2 separate regions of the Homo sapiens genome follow, and region 2 is linked to region 1. The links are contacts of gene promoters, found by promoter capture Hi-C in human tissues and cell types (Jung and others, 2019). All regions are on one chromosome and are shown on one strand. The core of a region is centred on a gene start or on the middle of the fragment in contact, and the rest is flanking DNA. Distances in the headings are between cores, read along the strand shown.

The links. The method cuts DNA at HindIII sites, captures the fragments that hold promoters and counts their contacts. A contact is called where the count stands out against the background at its distance.
Region 2: a fragment that was not itself captured here is called in contact with the fragment with the promoter of RUNX2 in region 1 in 2 of the 25 tissues and cell types used here (mesenchymal stem cells and spleen).

Annotation. Positions count from the first base shown.
Region 1 is chr6:45,326,096-45,331,762 of GRCh38, forward strand. RUNX2 (RUNX family transcription factor 2) reads left to right here and starts at 2,235. Exons shown (of 9, transcript NM_001024630.4): 1 at 2,235-2,365; 2 at 2,566-2,689. The coding sequence starts at 2,632. The region is part of intron 2 of SUPT3H (SPT3 homolog, SAGA and STAGA complex component); the gene reads right to left. RefSeq lists a cis regulatory region at 953-959, a promoter at 1,917-2,557 and an enhancer at 1,964-2,004. The HindIII fragment of the contact is 4,056 bases long and covers 654-4,709 here.
Region 2 is chr6:44,951,434-44,957,100 of GRCh38, forward strand. SUPT3H (SPT3 homolog, SAGA and STAGA complex component) reads right to left here. Exons shown (of 11, transcript NM_003599.4): 8 at 3,062-3,174; 9 at 1,877-1,984. Among named protein-coding and RNA genes, the nearest start is that of MIR586, 240 kb to the right of the region's middle. The HindIII fragment of the contact is 5,370 bases long and covers 1-5,269 here.

The DNA.
Region 1 (5,667 bases), core at 985-3,484:
ATAGATGTTAAAAATTACTTAAATTCTTATCAGGTCAATTTGAAGAGCCAAAGTTTACATAAAGAAGATTTTAAGGAAGAAAATAGCAAAATGTTGGGTTTGTAAGATGTTTCAGTGAATGCTAATGTAGAAACTATAAGCTTATTTGAAAAGAAGAAAACCATTTGCTGATCATACTACAGCAGCTACCTACATATTTTCAATTAAGTGATTCTGCTATTATAGGTACACATGAAACCATGTTTGGAAATCCCACAAGCTATAAGGACAAAACCCTCCTTTTGTTTACTTTGGATACTAATTAGAGATACAGATAATATGGATACGACTTATTTATAAAAGAGAAAAAATAATTTTTCTCTCCTTCACATGAATAACTGCATGTTAAATGAACGCTTTTACCTTTCAATGTAAAATCTGTTTACACATACAATAAGGCATGATAAATCCATAGTTAAAATAAAACACCAAAATGTATTTCTGGTTTTTTATCACTAAAAGTTTATTCTGAAAAGGTTCTGGACATTTGAAAAATAAAGGACTAGAATCATTCCCATACCCTACCAGTGTATTTTGGGAAAATCAAATTTTCTGTAAAGAAACTTATGAACATATTTGTACAGTTATTGTGATCTAATATGAACCAAAAGCAGATAATGAATAGCACTAGGAAGAACACAGGGATATTTTAGTTCTAACACCCTCCTGTCTCCCTAGCCCTTACCTCCCTGCACATTCCAAATAATCTTTTGTAATTCACTGTCTCCGCCCACCCCATTTACTTTATGCCACTCCTAGTTACTGTCACACTAGGAAGAAGTCTAACATGCAGATTTAGAGTGGCATGGATAAATGGCAAAAAAATGCCTAGAAAATTGGTCTGTTCGCCTTTATAATTTTGGTTGAAAAATACTCCATCGCTCCCAACTGATGAAAACAGGAAGCTCTATTCATAAATATAAAATTCACTGCCTATGATATATAATCATCCTAATAAGAAAATGAGTTCTATACATACTTGTCCAAAGGGGCAAAAAAGGAGATAGTTTCCCAAAGATGTTTCCAATTTTCTTCTGAATCAGAATTAGCAAATCGAGACGACTAACATACTCTGTCTGTGGGCATTATTCCTTACTACACACAGCATTTTGTAATTTATTTCAAAGCTTCCATTAGAAACAAAAAAATACATAGCTTCTGTTAACCCACTCTATTCTAAGCTCATAGAATCAAATACTGAACAATCTACATTATAACATAAGCATTTTACTTTATAGAAGATCTGCTATCAGAAACTCTATTAATGTCTAAACTACTTAAAGAACTATATAAACTGAATACACTTCAATGAAAGACAAAAAATATTACAATCATAAAGAAAACTAAGATTCATCCAATAAACTATATTACAATCCCTGTCATTCATTTTTTTAAGATCTTCAAACTAGGCATGAGATAATGGTATACATGAAACATTACATTTAATCTTTATTGTAAAGGCCGCCATCTAATAGATTGATAATAAACTAGACAGACGTGATTTAAAATTTGTAAAAGAATGCCCAGACTAACACTTTCATGACAGCCAATTATAGTCAAGCCTAGCAAGCAGTTTGCAACCAGACCTTAAGGTAAACTTTTTTTTTTTTTACAATGAGTTACAGATTCACAAGTTTAAGAAGACAAGAAAAAGGAAAACAGAAGGAATCCAGCCACCCAGCAAATATGAAGCAGACCCCAGAATGTGATACAGTCCAAAGATGTGAATTATTGTATATCATCACTGTTGTTCAGAATTTCACACAGACTCTTGAGCCAATTTTGTTCATTTTTCCACAGACACAATAATGAACTAAAAAGAGGAGGCAAAAAGGCAGAGGTTGAGCGGGGAGTAGAAAGGAAAGCCCTTAACTGCAGAGCTCTGCTCTACAAATGCTTAACCTTACAGGAGTTTGGGCTCCTTCAGCATTTGTATTCTATCCAAATCCTCATGAGTCACAAAAATTAAAAAGCTATATCCTTCTGGATGCCAGGAAAGGCCTTACCACAAGCCTTTTGTGAGAGAAAGAGAGAGAGAGAAAGAGCAAGGGGGAAAAGCCACAGTGGTAGGCAGTCCCACTTTACTTAAGAGTACTGTGAGGTCACAAACCACATGATTCTGCCTCTCCAGTAATAGTGCTTGCAAAAAAAAGGAGTTTTAAAGCTTTTGCTTTTTTGGATTGTGTGAATGCTTCATTCGCCTCACAAACAACCACAGAACCACAAGTGCGGTGCAAACTTTCTCCAGGAGGACAGCAAGAAGTCTCTGGTTTTTAAATGGTTAATCTCCGCAGGTCACTACCAGCCACCGAGACCAACAGAGTCAGTGAGTGCTCTCTAACCACAGTCTATGCAGTAATAGTAGGTCCTTCAAATATTTGCTCATTCTCTTTTTGTTTTGTTTCTTTGCTTTTCACATGTTACCAGCTACATAATTTCTTGACAGAAAAAAATAAATATAAAGTCTATGTACTCCAGGCATACTGTAAAACTAAAACAAGGTTTGGGTATGGTTTGTATTTTCAGTTTAAGGCTGCAAGCAGTATTTACAACAGAGGGTACAAGTTCTATCTGAAAAAAAAAGGAGGGACTATGGCATCAAACAGCCTCTTCAGCACAGTGACACCATGTCAGCAAAACTTCTTTTGGGGTAAGTGTTACCATTTTTAAAATCCTGTAAGATATGAACCTGTTAAACATAAAGGTATGATTCTTTGATAAACTGCTAGCTTTTCCAAATAGCATATTAAAGATCCTAATTATGCTATCTTGTTGCATTAAGAATTGAAAAATGAAATTTCTGTATATATTTGCATTTGGTATCTGTAATGTATCTAATTTTCAAAGTAATGACTTGAAATATACAAAATTAAATTATCTCACATTGATCAAAATGTTTTCTAGAGTTATAGAGGTGAGGATATGAAAACAGTAAAAGAAACAGTTTAATACTCTCATTAACCCTCACCAGAAGAAAAGTCAGATCCTAAATTAATCAAAGCATTATAAATTATTGACTCCGGCAGCTCCCAATATTTGAGCAAACTTCAAAAAGGAAGCAATTTTACAAAATAACAGACCACAGAATTATCTCAACATTATGGTCTACCATGTATAACACAGAAATAAACCTGTAGTACAGTTAACATTTTAACCAGCTCAACTAAAAGAAATCTACTTATAAATTCAAACTGTATCCTATCTAAATAAGTTTGTTTCTAAACAACTTTATATAAGTATACATTCAGCTGAAATAAAATTATGATAAGCACATCACAGCCATTTTTAAAAGATCTTTATAGTTGCCCAGGATATTAAAAAGTTCATGGAAGTATTTTAAAACTTACATGCAACTGCATTTTTCTATGTAATTTTAATTTTACATCTACACACTGTTATCCATAGACCTTGTTATAAACACACTGAAACACTGAAACGTCTAAGATTCTTTTAATCACATTCTTGGACCTACCAAAATGAATAACTGCTGTTTAGTCTCATGAAAAATAAAGCTCCATAAGGATACCCTGTATGATTTTTAAAAGCCACAACTATTAAACCATGCTGGACTTTAAAAGAAGTAGGCATAATCTTGTCCCTTAATATTTAATTTCAAGTTACTGTTGATACAGATATGTAAATGACTTTAACATTCATCAGCTGATGTGTTATTATAGCAAAATATCTAAACACACTTACAAGATTCTCTTTATGATCTCCAACATGTTCCAACTACAAGGCAAGTTTTCAAAAATTTTTCTTATATCCATTAAAATAAACCTTCTTGCTGTGTACATCTATATTAACTCTGCTTTTAACTTACAACTAATGACTGGAGTTTCCTTTACTCCTCCTACTTCACACATTTTAACTGGATACTACTAGAGGATCAGTCTCAGTTTAGGTCAAACAGAAATAATTAAACCTGAAGGGAGAAAAAATGGTTTCTCTTACAGGGTGAGGAAATGTACTTTGTATTTTACAAAAAAAAATGTAAAATTGCTTTAGTGACTCCCTCAATAGCTGTAAGTGGGCCCCCTCAGTTATAATATATACAATATAATAATCACAGATTAATTTAAAATTTTAATGATGGGTACCAAGTATTACTCTAAAAACTTCTATATTAAGGAAGCAGGACATAAACACAGCTAGACTACATTACAACACATAGCATAATTACAGCTTATACATCGAAAGTTTTGTTACTACTACCCAAGAGATAAAAGGAAAAAGAATAGTTAAAACTACTGTTACACAGAGGGATAACTTGAAACAGGGATAACAGAGATATCAGGGAGGGATAACAGAGGCAGTTAAGTTACTCTTTCACGTTATCACTCTGTTTAACTATTTATTTTAAACACATTTTAAAAACCAGATCAGGAACAACACAAGTTTCAAAAAATTCTTCAGTATTAGAAGTAAAGTTATCATGAAGAATATGTTAAAATTCTCACAAAGAATATATTAAACTGCTTCTTATTCTATCATAACAGGGATCTTATACTTCTGTAACATTCTTAATAACTATTCAAAATTTCCAAAACTTGACAGGATTCTAAGCAAGGCATGGTAGTGAACCTTTTTTTTTTCCAACATTACAACCAGTTCTTCCTCTTTTGAAAAGTGGGCTGCACCTTCCCTCCCCGCCAGCCCCCAAACAGTATCTTGAAGCCTGAATAGAGAACTTAACATCAACCCACTACCTCAGACTAATTACAGGTGAGTAGTGGACATCATGTATATGTTATCACATTGCAAACATTTCCCCATTCTATAATCTATGCAAAGCCTAAAACCTCACTTCAGGCTTTAGATTTTTATATAATGATTATCACCACCACCTAATGAAATGTCTTAAGTATGTGCCCCAATTTTGTAAAATAGTTAAAAAGAAAGTTTAGGATTTTCCTAGGTGAGGTACAAAGCACACATTAACAACTGCTTCACCTCAAATACAATGAGTGGTGTGTGTGTGTGTGTGTGTGTGCGCGCGCGCGCGCACATGCTAGAGAAAGAGTATGTCTGTGTCCTTGATCTCTCAGCATACTTCACTTTGAGTTAATCAAAAATTTTCAATCTGTACTACTCAAAATCTGTCCATCATTTATCATAAATATAGCTTGCTGAAAATCACAGATGTGACTCATAGAGTATCTTAAAATTAATGACTCATGAAAATATATCAGCTGACTGATTATCTACATAAAATCTTTGTAACTGCTTGAACATGATGTGTGAACACTGATTTCCAAAACAGCAATTGTGGTCCATATCAATAATATATTTATAGTTTCAAGATTCAGTAGTGACAAAGTTTTATAGCTTCTTTTTAAAATACAGAGCTAAATTCCAAAACTAGGGAGCAGAATTACAAAGTTAAGAACAAACACAGAAAATCACTCTAACACATATCAAAAGCTAAAAATGTCAAAGTAATTCCCAAAGACTCATATAAATTATTTTAAATTATAATAATCCTAATTTTACATTACAAACTGTTAAAGATTTTTAGTTTTTATTTTTAAAAAATGTTTTGAAATCTAAAACACTGAAAAGAAATTGTGGAAAAAGATCTGGCTGGTCTGTCTGACTCTCCTGATCAATCCGTCTCTATATCACAAG
Region 2 (5,667 bases), core at 1,335-3,834, 370 kb before region 1:
CTTGATGTTAGCTGCTGATTTTGTCAAGTGATAAAGGGCAGGAAGGAAGACTTCCAGTCTCTGAATATTCATCTTGACTACCAGTCACAGGAGGGGAGGGGTGTCTGCCAGCCAGAAAAAAGTTTGAGGCTTATACTAACATATTTTGTCAGGAGGCTCTCTGACACTCATGCTCCCACCTCCCAGAGAGCCCAGGAAATCCAGCACATATAGGATATTCCTCTCAACTGCTGGGTAGCTGGGAACAGCGGCTGCGGTTGCTGAGCAGTTGCCTAGGGCAGCTTGGCCACCCTGGAGAACCAAGAAAAGAGGGGAAATAAAGAGTTTTCCTAGGCATGCAAGCAATCACTTGAATGTTAAAAGAAAACTAGGCCCGTTGTGTTCACAGTAAATTTTCTCAATTAGAAATGTTATAACAAATTTGTCTGATGTTAATGGAAAGCATACTTATACACATATTCATAAAGTGAACAAACATCAAAGACATTTTAAAGGGGGTTTTTTGACATCATAATTTGGGTTTGTAACATAAAGAAAACAAATAGTGATTAATCAACTAAGTAAGCTTTAGGGACTTTTGTATGTTGACTGATAATGATGTATGACCTTTTCTAAGAAAAAAATGGATTTTTAATGGGCATAAACATTTTAATCCCTATTTGGTTTCCAAGCCAATTTGATTTTCCAAGGGGCATAAGAAAATGTTGAATTGTCCTTTTGTTTGTAATAAGATGCTATATGGGCATATATGTTAACATATTTTCTATGTATCCTAGAGCAGAGAAATTTAAACCTAGGGTCCATAGGGTTCACAGATCCCTTGGATCCATAGAATGGCTTCAGAATGTCTCTGAACAATCTGAAACTGTAGGCAAAATTTGTGAATGTGTTTATAGAAAAAGGGTTTATAGTTTTCATCAGATTCTCAAAGGGGTGTGTGACCTAAAGAAGATTACAACTACTTCTTAGAAATGATTTGAACCACTATCCTTGCCTATAGATATTTAACAAGGAGTAGAAATGTGTAATCAAGGTATGGCTATAAAACAGAGCTTAGCCATTTTCAGGTTATATATTTCAACCAACTTGATCCAAAACGTACTTCACAACTCTACATGTAGATGCGAACTTAACCTTCTTGCTGTCTTATCTATGGATATTCGATTGAATTACGTGAAACTGCTGTTTTTGTTAGTGAAAAGGGTCGAATATTGGCAAATACATTCAAGACACTGCAATACATTTCTGGTTTTGAGGTAGATGCTGTTTACAGAGGAGATTCTGTATACTAAAAGTGGTGCACAGTTATTATACAGAGCCTTAAAATTGGAAAGAAAACTTTACGGTTCCCATAGCAAAGCCAGATCAGAAAAGAATATAATTTTCACATAGTAGGGGCAATCTAAAAACTCAAGATGAATGAAGACAAGCTTCTTTAAATCATTTTTAGAGATGAATCAATAACTGAAATGGAAAGTTATCAATAAATGCCAGGGATTATTTTGTGAATAATAATGATAACCCTCTTATCTTTTGAAGCACAAAGAAATAAATGACTTTTCCAACATTACCTAAACCAGTTTTTCATCTCCCATAAAAATAAGAAATGCCTTGCAACTATCCCTTTCAATGAAGGGGTAGGAAAGCTAAGTGAAGCAAGAAAAACGTGAAAAAAGTCATTGTCTTAAGTGGACTGTCAGGGCCTGGCACACAGTAGGTGCTCAATTAAATACTTATTTGAATGTCTAATGTATTAAGATTCTTTGACTGAAGGTTATACACTCCTGCATAATCTTTATTAAAGAATCACTAATGTAAATACCAGATATGTGTCAAAATTCACAAATGTTTTAAGACAGATTTTTTTTGTACTTACCTCAGCAGAGTTGTGATACTGAATGAAGGTTGCAGAAATGGCATGGCTGAAGGGGTCCCCTGCCTTGGTTACCATGTCTTGCCTCACAAGAAGAGCCAGATCCACTAACTAGAAGACCAGAAGAATGAAAGTCACATAGCTAGAAATAATCATGAATGCCACTGAAGTGGCAAACCTAAAAGCAATACATTCTGAATGTTACTGATAATCCTGCTTGCCTAAAAATCTATATTGTAGACATGAGCACACACTTTCATTGACTGGTGAATGGACCTAGTCATGATATATTCTGACTTTTTAGGAGAGTAGTTCTCAAAATTTATTTCACAGTCACTAGTGCAAATTTCTGGGCTTTAAGTCCAGAGATTCTAATTCAGTAGGTCTGTTTTAAGCATATAGTCTAGGAATTTGCTTATTTTATTTTATTTTATTAATTTTTGAAATGGAGTTTCGCTCTTGTTGCCCAGGCTGGAGTGCAATGGTGCGACCTCAGCTCACTGCAACCTCGGCCTCCTAGGTTCAAATGATTCTCCTGCCTCAGCCTTCCTGAGTAGCTGGGACTACAGGTGCCCGCCACCATGCCCGGCTAACTTTTTTTTGGTATTATTAGTAGAGATGTGGTTTCACCATATTGGCCAAGCTGGTCTTGAACTCCTGACTGCAGGTGATCCACCCACCTCGGCCTCCCAAAGTGTTGGGATTACAGGCAAGAGCCACCGCGCCTGGCCAGAATTTGCATTTTAAACAAGAACCAAGGAGATGCTGATGCCTGTGGTCTAAAGACCACATCTTGAGAAAGTCTTTTAGAGGGCGAGATTCCAGACCCAGAATTTGGTAAGTACTCCTAAATTCTCACATACGTAGAAAGGTGTTTTTCAAAGCTCAAAAATAATCTCTAAACAAGGCAGATGTGGATTTGAGTTCAATGTCAAGAAAAAGCATGCAGGGATTCCATTTCTCATTAAGATAAAGGTACAAGAACTCTTTTTTATCCTAGCATCCACTTGAATTGAGGATGCAGAGACACATAACTGAACTAAATTTTAGAAAATGATGTAAATGCCACAGGAGAGAATTCATGGCTGTTATTACTGGTAGAGCAGCAGGGAGAAGAAGAATTGATCATGGGCAGAGATAAAGAAAAACCAGCCAGTGTGGCCCGATATGACAGATTAGAATTCTTACCTGTGCCACAGTTTCATACGCTAAATATGCTAAGATTTCCATTGCGACAACATTGGGTTTTATCTCCATACTGCTGCAGTCCAACCAGTCTCGAAATTTGGAAGCTTTTTTGGCTGGCCATTTAAAAAAAACAAGTGCAGAAATTTTAATTTTTAAAGTGTTTTAATACTGCACATTACTATCACAAAATTAAAAAAGTATACTCAGAATTGTACACAAAAAATAATGCACATAAAATGCATAATTAATGTCTAGATATTCTGGCCCCAAGAAATCCAAGTTTTAACTCTCAGTTATAAGGCAACACAATGGTTGTTTTCAACAACTCTCTTACGTATTTGGGTCTTTTATTTTACACCTATGCTATATGACATAGTATATTAAAGCATTTAATGTTTAATACTTCTCACACTGTCAGATTTACCATTGGCTACCGCTCATGTTACAACAAGAAGTCAGAAGATGTTCTTGTCTGATGTAACCTTAATTTACTCATATAGAAAGAAAATCTTGCAAGAAAGAACCTGTGATGAAAAAAGAAACATACAGAAACTATTGCTAATATTTTTCAAAAATATTCTCTAGTCTCAGAAGAAAATGGCACATAGCAGGCAGGATTAACTTGCAGCTCCCACTTGGATGGGTAGAGCAGCACGTGGAGACCCACACTGTGAACTTTTGCTCCAAGAACTACCGTAGGAATATACCAGGAAAGCCAAGAGCCACAGACCCCTTGAAGGAGGTGGATCACCACTGCAGGCTCTGTGGGACGCAGAGGAACTGTGAGTAGGCTTGCTTTCTCAGCTAGGAAGCCGGTAGCCTGGGGAAAGTTCTCAGCCCTGCTCACCAGCTGCCTGGAAATAAAGTTGGTGCTGTTACGGGCAGAGGGCATGGTGGAGTGAGACCGGCCTTTCGGGCTGTGGGCTGCATGGGAGCTGGGTGAGGCCTGCGGCTGCTGGCTTTCCCCCACTTCCCTGGCGACCTGCGTGGGGCAACAGAGGCAGCCATAATGCCCCTGGCAACGGTAACTCCCTTGTTCTAGAAGCCACACCCTCATCCCCCACAACAGCCACAGCAAGCCCCGCCCAAGAAGAGTCTGAGCTCAGACATGCCTAACCCTGCCTCCAGCTCATGGCAACCCAAATATCCTATACTCTCACTTATAACTGAGAGCTAAACTATGAGGACGCAAAGGCATAAGAATGATACAGTGGAATTTGGGGACTCAGGGGAAAGGGTAGGAGGGGGGTGAGGGATAAAAGACTGCACATTGGGTACAATATACACACTGCTCGGGTGATGGGTGCACCAAAACCTCAGAAATTGCTACTAAAGATTCATGTAGGCTGGGCGCGGTGGCTCACGCCTGTAATCCCAGCACTTTGGGAGGCCGACGCGGGCCGATCACGAGGTCAGGAGATCGAGACCATCCTGGCTAATATGGTGAAACCCCGTCTCTACTAAAAATACAAAAAAAATTAGCCAGGCATGGTAGCGGGTGCCTGTAGTCCCAGCTACTTGGGAGGCTGAGGCAGGAGAATGGTGTGAACCTGGGAGGTGGAGCTTACAGTGAGCCGAGATGGAGCCACTGCACTCCAGCCTGGGCGAGTGCGAGACTCCGTCTCAAAAAAAAAAAAGATTCATGTAACTAAACACCACCGGTTCCCCAAAAAACCTACTAAATAAATACGTTTAAAAAAAGTGTCTAGGTCGGGCGCGGTGGCTCACGCCTGTAATCCCAGCACTTCGGAAGGCCAAGGTGGGCAGATCACGAGGTCAAGAGATGGAGACCATCCTGGCCAACATGGTGAAACCCCATCTCTACTAAAAATACAAAAAATTAGCTGGGCGTGGTGGTGCGTGCCTGTAGTCCCAGCTACTCGTGAGGCTGAGGCAGGAGAATTGATTGAAACCGGAAGGTGGAGGTTGCAGTGAGCCGAGATGGCGCCACTGCACAACAAGAGCGAAACTGTCTCAAAAAAAAAAAAATAAAAAAAAAAAATAAAAATAAAAAAAAAAAAGTGTCTATTACCAGAATGGCTCAAAGTTGTAAATTTAAAGTTAAATAAACTGACATCTGGTCTAATCTAAGCCTGTGGTTACATTTTTTCCGGTTATGAAGATGTCTAAATTCTTAAGCCTGACTCAAAACCATCCAGACTGATTCCAAGCAGCCTTTAAGATATTTCCCTATTAAACCATCACCTGGCCTTGAGTCTTTTCCTCTGTGTGTCTACTCCTACTCCTTTCCTTCCATGGAATGCTCTGCCATCACTCTTCTTCATTCATATGAATCTTGATCATACAGGCCAAAGGTATACTTCCCTACTCTAGCCATTTATTGAACACTGATACCATCAGATATTCTTTCACAAATGCTTATAATTTCTTAAGCCATATTACAAATTTTTGTGGGAGAAGACCATGCCTTATGTCTCTGCATGTGTAATAGTACCAAGCATATACAGAACCAAGCGCGTATGTAACCTTTAGTTAAATATCTCTACACTGCCACAGTGCTAAGCAGTCTAATTTGATATAGGGACTTCATTAGACATTATTCATTTAACTAGTAACCTAGAGGGAAAGATTGATAGTGAAGATTT